5 separate regions of the Homo sapiens genome follow, and all the other regions are linked to region 2. Evidence: promoter capture Hi-C in human tissues and cell types (Jung and others, 2019). All regions are on one chromosome and are shown on one strand. Each heading gives the region's core, a stretch centred on a gene start or on the middle of the fragment in contact. The rest is flanking DNA. Distances are from core to core; before and after follow the strand shown.

Region 1 (3,169 bases), core at 548-3,047, 530 kb before region 2:
GTGCTTTCTCTATCTATAAAATATTGTAATTGGCTGGTGCAAGAGACATTAAAAAACAGTTGAGAATTTACACTTTGTATCACAAGATGACTTCATGTGGAGATCCCTCACAAGGGAGTCCATTTATTTTCTGACCACCTCTATTTATTAGACGTGATCATTTCTGGGCATCTTCAAAAGTCTTTCCTGACTATCTCTTTTCTACCCTAGCCTGGGTAGGTGCGCATCCTTCATTCCATACTACACTGCATTTTATCAGATCTGGACTTACCACCCTGGTGGTGATGGTCTTATTTGCACAAATATCTTCTTTGCTAGTATGTGAGCTCTTTAAGAGCTAGAGCTGAGTGTAGTTCATGTTGGATGCCTACCACTGGGACAATGCCTGGTTCATAGTACATGCTTATTTAAAAGTTGTTGATTGAGAGAGTGAATGAATGGTATGGTTTACTAAATTTCCAATGGAGGTGGACCCTCCCTAGAAGGAGGGCCCAATGAATAATGTAAAGAAAAATGGCTTGCCTTCTTGCTACCTGGCATAATCACAATTGGCCTGCAAGTATTGGGCAGAGAACTGTTTACAAGGCTACTCTCCCAGCTCCTAGTGCCACTAAACACTGGGAGCACACAATTTCATGATACAAAGCAGGAAAGGGCTTAAGAGACTCATGAGACTCAGACTTCTTAGACATCAAAACACTCTTATGAAATCATATTTTGATGAATGAAGGGTAAATTAGTAGGAAAGATGTGGATTAGGAGTCCCCTGGAGCACAATTTGGTTGAGAAACCAAGAGGCGAAGCATCTGCCTTCATGTAGTTGGAGTTTCTCAGACCAACGCATTCAAGTCTCACTTGCAGAAACGCCAAGCCTTCCTGTCACACCACCAGGCAGGCCAGTGAGGTCTTTAGTGATCCCCACTAGTGAGTCAGGGCCCAAATGCACATGACAGGGGCAGGTGCTCCAGGTAGTTTAGCTTTGCTTTGTTTATTTATTTATTTATTTATTATTATTTTTTTGAGACAGGGTCTTATTTTGTTACCCAGGCTGGAGTGCAGTGTCACGATCAGAGCTCACTGCAACCTCGAATTCCAGGACTCAAGCGATCATCCTGACTCAGCCTCCCAAACAGCTGGGACTACTGGCATGTGACAAAATGCCTAATTTTTTAATTTTTTGTAGACATGAGGTCTCGCTATGTTGCCCAAGCTGGTCTCGAACACCTGCTCAAGACATCCTCCTGCCTCAGCTTCCCAAAGTGCTGAGATTACAGGCATGAGCCACTGCGCCTGGCCCAGGTAATTTTTCTTAATGCATGGTGTGGCTTCACCAAGAATCCCTGGTGGGATCTGTTCCTGCAGGATCAGAGCTTGAGGCATTCAGTGCGGGCCCATTAGAGAAGACATTCCAGACTCTGTCAGGGGAGAAATTTTGATAGCATAATTGAATTCCAAGATGGGACCAGAAGGGTGAAAGGTGTAGAAATCAAGTCAGGGAGTGGAGAAGAGCAAAGAAGTTTGGCTCACAGAGGAGTCCATGGGTCTGGAGAAGCCGATCTTGCAGAAGTGTGCAAAGCTCTCCATCTGAGACAGTTTTGTGGTCTCTCGTGTCTGGCTTGTTGCATTCAGCATGATTCTCTACTGTTTATCTGCCTCTGACCCTCTCCCTCTTACCTGTGTACCCTCTGACACTCTTGAGATCATAGTGGAGAACACATCTCAGCGTTATAAGAGAGAATCCTTTTCTAAACTTCTCGACACGAGGTTATCTACTTTCTGCTTGGATTCGCTCATGGATGTGGAGATCACTCCCTCTCAAAGCAGCCCATTTCTTTTCTGCTCTCCTCTAATTATTAGAAAACTCTTGCTTGCACAGAGCTGAAATCTCATTCCCTAAAACATTGACCTTGTGGTCTGCGTCCTGCAGAAACACAGATTAGGTCTAAAAAATACATCTGCATGACGGACCTTCCACTTCTCTGTGAGCCCAACAGCCTTAATCCCTTCTGCTCCTTCCAATTGATTTCTAGACCTGCACCCTTCTGTGCATCTTGGAATTCACTTTAGCTTATCAAAGTCTTGCAAAACAATAATATCCCAAGCTGACTACTGCTGTAATAGGAAAACTGCATCCCTAAAACCCTTTGCAGTATTATTTTTTAATCACAATCTGTATAGGTCATTTCAATGAGAAAAAGTTGGTGGTGATGGTATGAGGGAGTGGTTAGAAGCTAGAGTTTCAGGCTCCCAGCTACAAAGTTGTTTATTTTCAGCAGGAATTTCAACAGCAAAGATGTCTTTGTAAGCTTATTTTGATTTTGCAACCTAAAAATAATAAACAGGTTTATCATAAATGGGAGGAGGGGGAAAGGAAACTAAACATTGAGCAAATTCTGAACTGCACGTAAGCCCAGACGAAAATCAACAAGTTCTGACGCTGGAAAAGTAAAAGGAAGCCAGCATTGACAACCATCAGTGAAAATCAAAGGAAAACAATGGCCCCGAGTGGTCGCTGTGTGCTCTGGGCTGACTGCTGCACACCAGGCTATCTCCCAGTTGAGACCACACTATCAGCCCATAGCATGCTCAGAAGTCACATAAAGCAAAAATACACTCTAATGAACTGATTTCTTCTATCCAGTTCACATGATGAAAACTTGTCTGGTAGAAAGAAAAATCTTGTCATTGAGCTGTGATTTTAACATCAAAAGATACAGCATCTTTAGCCAGGCATGGCAGTGCATGCCTGTAGTCTCAGCTACTCAGGAGGCTGAGATGGGAAGATCGCATGAGACCAGGAGTTGGAGGCCAGCCCGGGCAATATAGTGAGAACCCATCTCTACAAAAAGTGAAAAAACAGCTGGGCATGGTGACAGGTGCCTGAAGTCTCAGCTACTCAGGAGACTAACTGCATCCCTAAAACCCTCTGAGATGGGAGGATCACCTGAGCCCAGGAGTTTGAGGCTGCAGTGAGCTACGATCATACCACTGCATTCTAACCTGGGCAACAGAGCAAGACTCCATCTTTTAAAGAAAAAATTAAAAATAAAGGAAAAAATAATAAAAAGAGATATAGAATCAGTCACGTCCCCCATTCTAAATCTTTTTCTATCAGTGAAGCCTCATTTCTTAGGAAGCACTCTTGCCGCATCCTGGTGTAAAGACAGCA
Region 2 (3,581 bases), core at 197-2,696:
ATCTGTTCACAGAACAGTAGGTAGATTTCACAGCAGGGAGGTGAGGAGAACCTTGAAATTCGGAGACAGTTCGGGTTATTTCTTTCTAAAAGGTGAAAGCCTGCAGAGGAAAGAAGAAACTGACCCGCTGCCTTTTTTTTTTTTTTGGTCCTGTTTGTAAAATATGAGGTGAGTGGCAGTGAGACGCTGACAGAGCCTACTCCTCCCGGCTGCTGAAAAGCAACACAACACACACTTCTGCACACCTCGGACACCTAAACTCTCAGGGAGACCCACACACTCGCTCGCACACAGAGAGATGTACGCAGAGACACACTCACACAGAGACTCAGATGCACATTCAGAGATACAAAGACACTTAGAGACAGACACAGAAATGCATTCAGAAAGACACACTCAAGATCAGAGATACAGAGACTCACACATTCAGAGACACAAAGACTCAGAAAGAGACACAGAAATGCATTCAGAGATACATTCAAAGAGACACAGAGATACGCTGAGTGATACAGAGGTTCAGACACACTTTCAGAAACACAACGACACTCAGAGACACAAAAATGCATTTAGGGATACTGAGACTCAGAGACACACTCACAGAAATACACCCTGAGGCACTCACACAGACACGCTGAGGGCACGCGGCAGCTACAGGCCAGGATCTGCGATTCCTCCCGGCCGCCCGAGCCCCCAGGGTGCGGAAGCGGCGGCGTCGAGGCCGAGACTCCGGCCCCGCTCCCCGCTGGGCTGCAAACGCGCCGCTCCCCGCAGGCAGAGCCAGGAGGACCCTCTGATCAGCGCCTGCCCTTAGATCGGAGTCCGCATCCACGCGCCAGGCCACCGCCGCGACTTCTAAGAACACAGCAACTTGTCGCGACCTGCGGCTCCGGCGCAGGAGGGAGCCTCGCCTGCCGCTAACAAAGCCTCTGCAGCCGGCTCCAAAGCCCCGCGGCGAGGACGGGACCCCGGGCCCCGTGCGCCCCCGGCACCCACCTTTGGTGAGCAGCACGGCCATGGCGCAGAGCTCCAGCTGCAGCCAGATGAAGATGTAGCTGGAGTGGCGATCCATTGACGCCCCGCACGGCCGCGGCGCCCCCGCCGGCTTCCGGAGCCCCGGCTCGGCGGCAGCCTACGACCCCCGGAGCGCGCAGGGCATGGGCCCTGCCCGGAGCGGCGGGCGCCGTCAGCGGCGGGGCTGGGTTTCGGGCCGCTGCCGGAGCATGGAGCGCGGCTACAGGGCGCGCCCAGGAGCCCAGAAAAGTTTCCCGGTCCCCCGTCGGCGGCCACTGGCTCCCTTGCCCCGCTCGACTCTAGGGACGCACGCTAGCCCCGGGTCGGGAGTGGGCTCCCGGCCTTCAGTCCCCGCTAGCGGCCGTTCTCAGCGAAGAGAGTAGGGTCTCCACAGCACGCAAGGGTATCCGCCGCAGCTCCCGCCCGCGCCAGCCCAGGTCTCTCCGGCTCCGCGCCGTAAATAGCGCCCCGCGCCGGGAGCCGGCCTGCACCGCCCCGCCTCGCCCCGCCCCACGGCGTCCGATTGGCCGCCGGGCTCCTGTCAATCCGCCCCGCAGCGGGGGGCGGGCCCAGACGCGAGCGCTGGGGGACCTGCCCGGCGGCTCCGAGCGGCGCCGGCGTCTGGGGCGCCCGGCTGGGGCGCCCGGCTGGTGCGCTGCCGTCTCCCGCGCTCCCCCTTGCGGAGGCCTGCGCGTCAGTGACCTTCGCGAGGCGCCGGGGGAGCCCAGCCCCGGGACCGGCTCGGGAACCCGCCTCCGAGACCCTGACGGCTCAGCCTCGGGTGGTCAGCGTTCCCCAGCGCGGGGCTTCTTTTGGGTGCCCCCCGAAACACGCAGGGGGTCCGTGTGGTCGTCCTCCCCGGCCGCACTGCGTTTTCTGGAACCCCCAGGGGCGAGTGACAATGCCCCGGCCTGTGCAGGTGGCGGAGGAGGGTTCGGGTGGGAGCCCGGGGGAGGCGGCCCAGCGCTGGGGTCTGCATTCAGCCTTCGCCCCCCACCCCCTCAGCGTGTCCGCCTCGAGCTGCCCGCCATGGGATCAATAAAGCCCAGACAGACTGACTGTTGATCCGTTAGGAGCCGCTAGGTTCTCCCGGGTACGCGGGACGAGTAGCGGGCTAGAGACACTTAACGAAAATTAGCAAATCCAAAAGCACCCGGCGCCAACGAGACGACACTGGCCGAGACTGACACTCAATTAACCACCCCCCAAACAATGGCTGGCAAACACGCCGGCTGACCCTGATCAATATCAGCCCCGCAGTGATCTCCTCCTTGAGATGCTAATTCATTTATTAGGGATCGCGGGGCTGCCCTTCCCAAGGTACTCAAGGTGGTCTTGCTGTAGTTTTGTTTCCCCCTCCGCTTTGGAAGGAATTAAGGTTAAAACTCATTATCTGAGGGAATGTTCTTTTATCCTCTCCCTCCAAAACCTGAGATGAACAAAAGTCGACCATTTGCAAAATTCTTCTTGAGAATCTGCCAGAGCTTCCCTACCGGATATGTCAAAAGGGGGTGGGGGGTGGGGAAGGAAAGAAAGAGAAGCACATTTCATGCTAAGGTGAGAATTATAAAGACAAATCCTTTAGGACTAGAGTGCAGACATGAGCTTTGAGACTAAGAAAAATGTACATATGTCTTGAGGACTGAAAGTCAAGGCGAACATATCTCAAACGCCTAACCTTTTAAAGTTGTTGAAAGTCTGCAGAGCTGCAGGATGTAGTTAATGAAATTGTCTTTGAAAAATAATGTTTATGTGCAGAAAAATAAAATAATTTCATAAACTGATGCTCAGACCATTACTTCTCTAGATCAAAATTGCATCTAAAAGGAGAGAAGGAGAAATCCAGTAGAAGTTTTAAAAGAAAATTAAACTGGTTAGGGCACCAGGTAAACAGCAGGTTTCTCAGAAAAGTTTCTCAAGGGGCGTGCTGACAAGGCAGTCCTGGGGCCGAGTTTGATTAGAACTTCCTGGCTACTAGAACCTTGACAAGTTAACAATTGTAAGGGTTTTATGCAGACAAGACTTTTTTTTTTTTTTTTTTTTTTTTTGAGACGAGTCTGGCACTGTCGCCCAGGCTGGAGTACAGTGGCGCGATCTCGGCTCACTGCAACCTTCCGCCTCCCGGGTTCAAGCCATTCTCCTGCCTCAGCCTCCTGAGTAGCTGGGATTACAGGCACCTGTCTCCACGCCTGGCTAATTTCTGTATTTTTATAGAGACGAGGTTTCGCCATGTTGGTCAGGCTGCTCTCGAACTTCCGACCTCGTGATCCGCCCGCCTCGGCCTCCCAAAGTGCTGGGATTTACAGGCGTGAGCCACCGCGCCCAGAGGACAATACTTTTTATGTAATGATTACACTCTCTTTTAGAGTCAATTATTAGCTAAAAGGAAACTTTCAGGGTATGTTAGTTCAACCTGGCCTCCCACCGTAGGCGAGGCTTGCAATGTCTGGGGGTATAAAGATGTCAGAAACTAGATAGTAAATCTCAAAACAATGGAGCTGGACAATAATGGAGATTTATGTGCATGATGTTACAATGCCTAAAAGAAAGAGGTTAACTAGTCTAGGAAG
Region 3 (3,444 bases), core at 541-3,040, 650 kb before region 2:
TAATGTTGATGGAGGAAATACTGCCATCCCTTGTTGAGAGATCAGCTTTGAATGTCTTCTTCTCTCAGAAAAATCTTCACTCTCTCCAAAATTAGTATCATCCATTAGGATAGAGCTAGGAACTATAACTGAAAAAAAAAAAAAAACTGGAGCCAGTGTTCTAAACAAGTCTTCCATTTGTTCTTTATCTGAAGTCTAGGCTTTCCTGATGAACAGGCTAAGGTTTTGGTGTGTTATCTTTTCTGCCACTGGAAAAACCAGACAGGAATGAAATGTATGTTGAGTATTTATTGAACATCAGAAACTATGTTCATTTGTTCATATTCACATTTGTTTCTTTAATCCTAAGAATAATGCCATGAGTTAAGTATCTTACTTTACAGAGGAGTCAACTGCAGAGATTAAACTAATTTCCATCACACAGTTAGCAAGTGAATGAATCTAGAACTTGAAACCAAGTCTCTGATTCCGAAGTTCAGTGTTCATTCCATTAACCCATGGTGCTAACAGAGAGGAAGATATGGGACTTTCTTTTCACTTCATTGAATTATTTTATGTAAGGATGTGTGTATGTAGTGTTTGAGTGTTTGATAATTGACAAAACCTGGATGCTACAATAATAAGAGGGGAAGGAAGAGGGAGAAAGAGAAAGAAGAATATGGTGGAAAATACAGACAGGCATAGATACACACGCGCACTCCATGTTCCTTTGACCTCAGCCAGCCGGTGGGTGGAGGCATTGCAAAGAAGTGGGTCTTTTGAAAGACATTGACATTAGAAAGGTTGTCAACAAACCTTCTGACAGCTGTTTGCTAATTATTACTTCTAGGGGAAAAGTGTGAATGTAAGTTGTGTCTGAATGTTTTGTTGGAAAAAAATCTGGAATGCATAGTTCCATTCTCCTCTATAATCATAAATGGATTTTCTTGCAATTGTATTTTCTCTTGCTAATGAATAGTAAACAACACTGATTATAGGAGTTATCTAATTCTTGGTGCCCCCCTTGCTGTGGCCTCCCATCACTGCCAAATCCCCTTCTCTCTCTTCACACACACACACACACACACACACGCACACACACACACACACAGAGAGAGAGAGAGATCAACACATAAATCAGCAAGCCATGTTGACCCTTACGCAATGCCATGTGCTGTGAAAAGCACCGGGAATACAGTTCATACAATTAAGGGCCAATTATGTGCTTATTGGCTCTTGACCTAAGAGGAGACACAACGTCTTCAGGGCAGGAATTGTGTTAATGCTCTGTTGTTCTCAGGGGCCTCATAGAGAGCTCTGTTTCACTTGGGGAGAATTTAGAAAGCAGAGCGCCCTTAATATCTATTTCAAATAGAAGTAAATGCACTGAGTATAAAATTAACTTTCTCTCAAGTGGTGGTTACACAGCTAGGCAAGATTGGTTCAGAATAATGAGAGCCAATTGGCTTTGCAAAAATGGGAGGAGGTGGGGGAGACCAAAATGTGGGTGATGTTTGGGGCAGTAGATGGAAGGTGCTGCTGAGCTGCTGCAGAGATGACCTGGGGTAAGCAGTAGACCACGAGCATGCAGCTCACTCAGGAATGTGGGAAGTCATCCCAGGCATCTTCTCTGTTCTCATTTGGAAAGCACGCCAGGGCAATGGCAGTTGCCAGAGTTTTAGGTCATGACTGCTTCCATAAGAAATATTATGATTATCCATATTCCAAATTATCCTTCAGTACGAATGGTAGACATCAAACAAACCACCTCATTTTAAGGTGGAGTCACATAAGTTTCACAGCTGCTAACCAACTGTTTGAAGACTTTCAGGGATGGTTCCCTCTTTTTTTTTTTTTTTTTTGAAAAGAAGTCTCACTCTGTCACCCAGGCTGGAGGACAATGGCGCGATCTTGGCTCACTGCAACCTCTGCCTCCTAGGTTTAAGTGATTCTCCTGCCTCAGGCTCCTGAGTAAGTAGGATTAAAGGCATCTGCCATCATGCCTGGCTATTTTTTGTATTTTTGTAGAGACGGGGTTTCACCATGTTGATCAGGCTGGTCTTGAACTCCTGACCTCAGGTGATCTGCCTGCTTCGGCCTCCCAAAGTGCTGTGATCACAGGCGTGAGCCACTGTTCCCAGCTGTCTTTTTTAAAATATATTTTTTTTAAATAGAGAAGGAGATCTTGCTATGTTACCCAGTCTGGTCTTGAACTCTTGGCTTCAAGCAATCCTCCTGCTTCAACCTCCCAAAGTGTTGTGATTATAGATATGAGCCACTGACCCCCACCAGGGATGGTCCTCTCTTGATACTACCTCAGATCTTTGAGCTGAAGAATAAGAAAAGGAAGAGTGTGAGGAGGCGTGAAGAAGTGGATAGATGCTGGGCATCTTATCTCATCCCTGAGGTCCAGGGAAAAACAGGCTTCAAAGTCAAAAGGATACATGGATGCAAGTTCTGGTTCTGCCCTTTACCACCTGCAAGGTCTTTCCAAGCTTCCTGAATGTCTACAGCCTTAGACTCCTCCTATGTAGGGTGAGTTGTCTGAGAAATAAAGGTAATGTATGAAAGATTCCTGGTATAGTGAGTTCTTAGTTATATGTAGCTACTATTATTATTTTATAAATGTTTCAAACATTGATGTTGGTGGTCACTATAGCAATATCTCACCGCCTTAGGACTCTCAGAAGTTCCTGTAGCTCAGATGTCCCAACCCCCAATTACAGAAATGCTGGCATGGAGCAGGTCATTGGATAAAGACCTCAGTTTCTCCAGTTGCCTCTCCATAAGGGGAGGGCTGAGTATATACGTGGCCAATAAACGGCAACATCTATTACTAACCCAAAGAAGCAAACGATTCACATGACTGCATTGGAATGGAGGTTACAGAACTGAAATAGGAGAAAGCACAAGCAAATTTCTTATGCCCTCAGATTCAGCACGGAATATGCTGTCTCAACCCGCTTGTCCGTGGACAGCCTTGACTGTCTCCTGGGGAAGAATATGAAGAAGCTTTCCTTTAGAAGATGCCATCAGGGAAGACTGGACTAAATCAACAGTTGGAGAAATAATGATGTGTAAATCAGAGTGAGGCCATTTCACTGTGAGGTTCATGTTTGCTTTAGGATGCTTTGGACTTTGAAATGAGAAAGTTGACACACCATGGGGTGCTGTCTGTAAGGGTGGGAAACTACAGACTTCAGAGCGCCTGGGACCTGCAAATATTTGGCTTTATTTTTTTCAAAAATCAACTAGAAATAAACTTACACTGGTAAGTTCTAGCTTTAATTCCTTCACATACTTGTTCTGTTCCATTTTTATTACTGCCATTGCACTGGGTGCCCATTAAACGTAATGCATACACACACAACATCAACAACAATGACCAAAACTATTGCTTGTGCAGTTAATAGAAACCAAATTTCCCAGAAGCTTGCAACTCCACATGTCACATGTTTTGCTTTT
Region 4 (3,284 bases), core at 253-2,752, 790 kb before region 2:
TTGCCAAGTACATTCCCAGAGCACCCAGAACATGTGCTTACACTCTTTTCATCCTCACCCCTACACCAAAAGGAAGGAGAGTGAAATCAGCCACACTTTATAGCATAAGGAACGAGACTCAAGTCACTTAACCCACCCAAAGACGTCAGCTAAGAACAGGTTGAGCACCACAGCGGCAGGCCTGGCGTCTCCGCTCTTTTCCCAGCCTTCCTCTCAGTCTTGTTGCTGCATGGTCACCCGTCGACTGCCATTGCTCCAGCCATTATGTTTGCATTCAAGATAGAAAGAGAAAGAAAGGGGAAGGAAAAAAGCCCACCTAATAGCCACTCTCTCTCTTTAATCAGATAAAGCACGTGTTTTCCCAGAAGCCCCCAGCAGACTTCTGCTTACATCCCATTGGCCGGAGCCTGTCACATGGCCAGCCCCAGCTGCAAGGGAGCCTGGGGAAGCAAATGGCAGAGGAGAAGGATGTTGGGGTATTGGCTAAGTTAGCCAGGGAACAGGGTCTGCCATACCAAGTCTCCACAGCAGAGCCAAGACTCCAGCCCAGGTCTTCTGATCCCAAGGTCAGGGCTCTGTGCCCTCATTCTGGTTGGGAAAGTAACAAGAGACTGGGCTTGACAACCCCTCCCACCCACCCTCCAATGAAGCCAAGGTCAGCTGCCTCTCAGTTTGTGTTTGTTGCTTCTCACATTACAAGAGCCTGGAGCTGCAGCCAGGGACCTCATCTTGCACCGGGATCTCAGGGCAGCACTGAAAGTTTGCCCAGTGCACATGTCATGCTTGGAAAATCAGCCACCAGTAAGAGAGGGTGTGCCCACGCCCTTCATCCTGGGGCTCAGGGCGGGTTATCAACCTCCACTGGGCTTTTAAAGTGTGGTTTTCACAGAATCCTGAAATGCATGTCAGGAAAGGACTTACAGTGAGCCGACTAGCAAGAGTGAGAGGCATTTTGCCACCTGGAGTAAGAGTCAGACTGACAATTTGAGGAGGAGAAAAAGGTAGGAGGAAAAGGCAGTAGAACAGTTTTGATTTTTATTTCCTTTTATTTTATTTTTTAGAGACAGGGTCTTACTCTGTCATCCAGGCTGGAGTGCAGTGGCGCAGTCATGGCTCACTGCAGCCTCTAACTCTTGGGCTCAAGCGATCCTCTCTCCTTAGCTTCCTGAGTAGTGGAGACTACATGCATGCAGCACCATGCCTCGCTAATTTTTTTTTTCTTTTTGTAGAGATAGGGTCTCATCATGTGGCCCAGGCTGGTCTTCAACCTCCGGGCTCAAGCAGTCCTTCCTCCTCAGCCTCCCAAAGCACTGGGATTACAGGCATGAGCCACCACTCCCGGTGGCAGTTTTGCTTTTTAAGGCCCATTTCTCTGTAAGAGAGCCATGAGCTCACCTCACTGCTAAGCAATCGCGTGCAGGGCAGGAACGCCACTGACCTGTCTGCAGTGAGATGTGCGCTCCAGTGTTGATTGTGCTCTTTGGAGATATGCGGTGCTAACAGCCCCTTGAGTGGCACATGCATTATCCCTTCCACTCTTAGCACAGCCCTGCCAGTATCCAGAAGGGCCAGGGCCTTGAGCTGGGGCAAAGGGAGGAGGACCTGGAGGACGAGGAATGAAAAAGACCAACTCCTTGACACCACTTCTCTCTGCCTACAGGCTTCTCCCCGTTGAACTGTCAAAGGGCTGGGGTATCCTGGGTTTCTCTGTTTGCCCCTTTGCCCCTGGTTTGATGGCCAAGGGGGTTTCCCCCTGTGACACTGCAGTCAAGAGGGACAACATCCACTAGGTTGGGGGAGGAGTGAGCTAGAAGTGTCCGTGAAGGAGCTCCTGATGGTCTGGCCCTGTCCCTGCCCTCACAGCACTTTTCCTTGTTGACAATCACCACGAGGTGTACCTCTGGCAAGGCTGGTGGCCCATCGAGAACAAGATCACTGGTTCCGCCCGCATCCGCTGGGCCTCCGACCGGAAGAGTGCGATGGAGACTGTGCTCCAGTACTGCAAAGGTGAGGCTCCCTCTAACATGCCTGCAGCACGGAACAGATGGGGAAGCCCCTCAGGCATGCGCAGCCAGGAGACCCCCTTCCCCTTCTGTGCATGTCAGCCAGCATCCATCCATAAAGCCTGGCAGGTGGTGATGAAACCAATTTTTTCCCCTTTAACTTTTTGAGATGTATTAAGTTTTAGATTAGCGCATTCTCAGCTGCCAGCATGAAGAAGAACTAGTTTTTCTCTCTGATATTATGAGGCTAACTTGTTACCCTCAAGGATAAAGGCTGTATTGTGGAATGCCCCAGGCAGATTAAAACCCCGCTGTACTCGGGGTTGATCATGCTGAGAGACAAGTTGGCCTCTGCCCTGTACATTATCTGCAAGCACTACCACGCTGTTGGAGAATGGAGGTCTCCCCCAAACAGTGAACGGCCATTGCCAACCTTTTTATTATTCATTATTATTTTTAGTATTATATCCAAAGAGAAATACCCATAGTAAGTTCATGGTTCTTTACTATACACATGAAATTTCTAGTCTTTTATATAAAATGAAAATGCCAGTAATTAATCTTATTTAATTTTTATGGTTTCATTGACACAACTAGTTTAATGTCACTGAGTATGTGCAATGGATTCTCTTCCTGAAAAACTCTTTAGCAATAAATAACATATGAAACCTTCCACTCAATGTTATAGTGAATGTGGATGTATAAGATGCTGTCGTTCGCCGTCAGTCATTATGGGAGTTAATCCTGTGCTAGGAAATGAGACGGATGACTCTACAGGTGAATTCAGGAGGAAGAAAATGCTCCACCCAGAAGCTGCAGACAGAGCCTCTCTCTCCCTTCCAGGAATACACAGCGTTTTGTTAGGTTCAAGAAGTATAGACTCAGGTTGATTATAGGTCACTATGGTAGTCACAGGCATGAAACTAACAAACATCTTATATAAACATTATCCATGTGTTGTTATGAACTACTGGTAACTTGCATTTTAAGCATGAAGTCATGAGTTCTGGCAAAGAAGAAAAGATTTCAAGGGAAATCAGAGAAAGACAGGGTCTCCCTGGGGTCTACTGACATTGCAATCTGTGTAACTACAGGAAAAAATCTCAAGAAACCAGCCCCCAAGTCTTACCTTATCCACGCTGGTCTGGAGCCCCTGACATTCACCAATATGTTTCCCAGCTGGGAGCACAGAGAGGACATCGCTGAGATCACAGAGATGGTGAGCACGCTTTCCTGCCCTATGAAGGTGGCTCCTGCGCCTTTTGGATTGTGGGTTAACTT
Region 5 (3,314 bases), core at 197-2,696, 670 kb before region 2:
GTTGATATATGTGCTTTTACTGTGTGTGGTGTCCACAAGAACAGAAGCAGGAGCAACAGTGGTATATAGGTTTTGTGGTACTTTTTATTGAAATGTAATATACATACGGAAATGAGCACACATCGTAGTCTCAATGAATTTTCACAAACTGAACACATCCATAAAACCAGAACCCAGAGCAAGAAATACAATGTTACCAGTTCTCTTTTGTGTTATCTCCCAGGCACTAATCCTAAGTGGGGTAATCATTATCCTGTCTGTTTGTGTACTTTATAGAAATGGAATCATGCAGTGTATACCAGACTTTTAATGTCTGGTTTCTTTTCCTCCATAGTATGGCTGTCATATTCATCCATATTTTTGTGAGTACGTGATTCTTTCTCACTGTTGTACAGTATAGGTTGAACATCCCAAATCTGAAAATCTGAAGTCCAAAATGCTGCAAAATCTGAAACTTGTTGAGCACCCACATGATGCTGAAAGGAAATGCTCATTGGAGCATTTAGATTGAGATTGAGATTTCAGATTTTTGGATTTGGCATGTTCCACCAGTGAGTTTAATGCAACTATTCCAAGACCTGAAAAATTAAAAATCTGAAACATTTCTGGTCCCAAGCACTTGGATAAGGGATACTCAACCTGTATTCCATTGTGTGAATATCGCGTAATGTATTCATTCATGCTACCATTGCCGTGCACCTGGGTAATTTTCAGTTTTTAGCTCCAATGAACAGCACTCCTAAAAAAATTCAGGTAAGTGTTTATTAGTGAACACATTTCTGTTGGGCATGAAAACCCAGAGTGGAGTTGCTGAGTCGAAGGGTATGTATATGTTAGCTTTAGTAATAATTTCCAAACCATTTTCCTAAGGGTTTGTACCAATTAGCACTCTAATGAATAGTGTGGGAGTGTTCAAGTTGTTACATATTCTTGCCAATATTTGGCAATTTTAATTTAAATTTTAGCCATTTTGGTAGTGTGGAATTGCATCTCTATGATTTCAATGTGCATTTCCTTGATTACAAACAAAATTGAGCATTTTTAATATGTTTACTAGCCATTTGAATATTACTCTCATTTATGAAGTGGCATTTCAAGCATTTTGTCCATTTTCTACTGGGCTGACTTTTTTTTTAACTTCAATCAACAATGATTTTATTTGATCTTATTCATCAGTTCCTTTTTTTGTCTTCCAATTTTTATTTTAAGTTCAGGGGTACGTGTGCAGGTAAATGTGTGCCATGGTGGTTTACTACACAGATCATCCCATCATCCAGGTATTAAGCCCTGCATCAATTGGTTATTCTTCCTGATGCTCTCCCTTCCTGCCCCTACAGATGCCCAGTGTGTGTTTTTCCCCACCACAGGTCCATGTGTTCTCATCAATCAGCTCCTACTTATAAGTGAGATCATGCAGTGTTTGGTTTTCTGTTCCTGCATTAGTTTGCTGAGAATAATGGCTTCCGACTCCATCCATGTCCCTGCAACATGATCTCATTCCTTTTTTTGGCTGCATAGTATTCCATGATGTATATGTACCACATTTTCTTTATCCAGTCTATCACTGATAGGCATTTAGGTTGATTCCATGACTTTGCTATTGTAAATAGTGCTATATGTGTGCATGTATCTTTATACTAGAAGGATTGATTTATATTCCTTTGGGTATATACTGAGCTGACTTTTAGTAAATTGACTTGGCTAGGCATGGTGGCTCATGCCTGTTATTCCAGCACTTTGGGAGGCCAGGGCAGGGAGGATTGCTTGAGGCCAGGAGTTTGAGAACAGCCTGGGCAACATAGTGAGACCTCATTTTTATAAAAGCAATTAAAAATTAACTTGTTCATATATTTTGTGTATTTTTTTTCTGAGACAGAGTCTCACTCTGTTGCCCAGGCTGGAATGCAGTGGCATGATCTTGGCTCACTGCAAGCTCCACCTCCTGGGTTCAAGCGATTCTCCTGCCTCAGCCTCCTGAATAGCTGGGATTACAGGTGCCCACCACCACACCCAATTAATTTTTATACTTTTAGTAGAGATGGGGTTTCACCATGTTGGCCAGGCTGGTCTTAAACTCCTGCCTGGCTCTACTGCAGTGTAGACTTTGTCTTAAGCAGATCATCATGTGGCAAAGCGGTGATTCCACATGCACTCTGGCCTTCTTCTGAATGGCTGTCGGTGGAGCCTGAGACCTTGTGAAATCAATAATGTGGCCAAGGTCCAAGGCGAGGAAAGTGAAGGCTGCTGGCAAAGATGTCTTGGTGCAAACAGATGGGGTCTGAGCGTCCACCCTTCTCTTCCTGGGTTTGCATCCTGAAACTTCCTGTGGTGAGCTCCCCAGCTTTCGTATTATGGAAGTAGATTCCTCAGATATAAACAAGTCCTTGTCTGGAAAGAAGTCACTTAGTGGGCCTGAGAATGGAGCACAAGTAGACCCATCAGCACAGAGCCACTCTACAGACCAAGAACGACCTCGCAAGGCACCGCACGACCGGCACTTGGCTTCCTAGTAAAAGCAGGACCCTGCATGTTCCTCTACATCTTATACCATTTATGCTTAAGGGGTTATATTTTTTTTCTGGGGTCAGTTAAATCACTTTCTCTTCCCACTGTGGTAAACCCCAAAGAGCCTCCTGATAATTAATTTTTGTTTTATTGCTAGATTGCTCTGCTCTGCTAGAATGTAAATTCTATAAGAGCAGGGACCTTGTCTGTCATAGTCACTCAGTAACTATCACAGCTAGTGAAGAATGAATGAATGAATGAAAACTAGGCTAGCCTGATGAGTAGATAAGAAGGAAGCATTGCTATGAGGAAGAGCCACGGAACAAAGAAGGAATTGAAGGATGATATTGACGCTCTCACGGAAAATTTTCTGCTAGAGAACCCCTAGGAGCTCATCTCACCTGAGAAGAGCCTAGGATAAGATGATCAATGTCAGCAAAAGTTGTATGGAAATGGGACCCAGATGGTTTACTCTTTAAACTGTCACAGCAATAGCATCACATACTTTAGGGGATGTTGGTAGGATAGCAATCTGGGTAGAGTGATTGGAAAAGTGGGATATGATTTATTTTTCTTTGTTTTAGCCTGTCTGTGATGATTACCCTGACAATTGTCTCAGAAACTCTTAAAACTCTCTTATAGCATTTCTGACTGAACACAGAGAACTCATTTGGTCAATCTAAGAACCAGAGAGTTAAATTGGGAACCAAGCTTGATACCAATAAGATTGTTGGAATTCAGGAGAGGCTCATATTTTGAGCTATTCTGACAAAAATACACCAAAAATTCCCCTTAGCATTTTAGCTACT

The links. The method cuts DNA at HindIII sites, captures the fragments that hold promoters and counts their contacts. A contact is called where the count stands out against the background at its distance.
Region 1: a contact is called between a fragment that was not itself captured here and the fragment with the promoter of BAMBI in region 2, in 2 of the 25 tissues and cell types used here (dorsolateral prefrontal cortex and lymphoblastoid cells).
Region 3: a contact is called between a fragment that was not itself captured here and the fragment with the promoter of BAMBI in region 2, in 2 of the 25 tissues and cell types used here (H1 embryonic stem cells and dorsolateral prefrontal cortex).
Region 4: a contact is called between a fragment that was not itself captured here and the fragment with the promoter of BAMBI in region 2, in 1 of the 25 tissues and cell types used here (mesendoderm cells).
Region 5: a fragment that was not itself captured here is called in contact with the fragment with the promoter of BAMBI in region 2 in 4 of the 25 tissues and cell types used here (H1 embryonic stem cells, dorsolateral prefrontal cortex, mesenchymal stem cells and 1 more).

Annotation. Positions count from the first base shown.
Region 1 is chr10:29,205,154-29,208,322 of GRCh38, reverse strand. No RefSeq gene overlaps it. Among named protein-coding and RNA genes, the nearest start is that of LYZL1, 82 kb to the left of the region's middle. RefSeq lists a silencer at 1,279-1,509. The HindIII fragment of the contact is 3,136 bases long and covers 230-3,169 here.
Region 2 is chr10:28,675,386-28,678,966 of GRCh38, reverse strand. BAMBI (BMP and activin membrane bound inhibitor) reads right to left here and starts at 1,446. Exons shown (of 3, transcript NM_012342.3): 1 at 994-1,446. The coding sequence starts at 1,069. RefSeq lists silencers at 549-693, 1,419-1,978. The HindIII fragment of the contact is 33,369 bases long and covers 1-3,581 here.
Region 3 is chr10:29,327,318-29,330,761 of GRCh38, reverse strand. No RefSeq gene overlaps it. Among named protein-coding and RNA genes, the nearest start is that of LYZL1, 40 kb to the right of the region's middle. The HindIII fragment of the contact is 5,763 bases long and covers 1-3,444 here.
Region 4 is chr10:29,462,215-29,465,498 of GRCh38, reverse strand. It overlaps SVIL (supervillin), which reads left to right. Exons shown (of 38, transcript NM_021738.3): 35 at 1,864-2,007; 36 at 3,098-3,222. The region is part of intron 2 of SVIL-AS1 (SVIL antisense RNA 1); the gene reads right to left. Among named protein-coding and RNA genes, the nearest start is that of SVIL-AS1, 54 kb to the right of the region's middle. The HindIII fragment of the contact is 8,599 bases long and covers 1-3,284 here.
Region 5 is chr10:29,347,892-29,351,205 of GRCh38, reverse strand. No RefSeq gene overlaps it. Among named protein-coding and RNA genes, the nearest start is that of SVIL-AS1, 60 kb to the left of the region's middle. The HindIII fragment of the contact is 9,519 bases long and covers 1-3,314 here.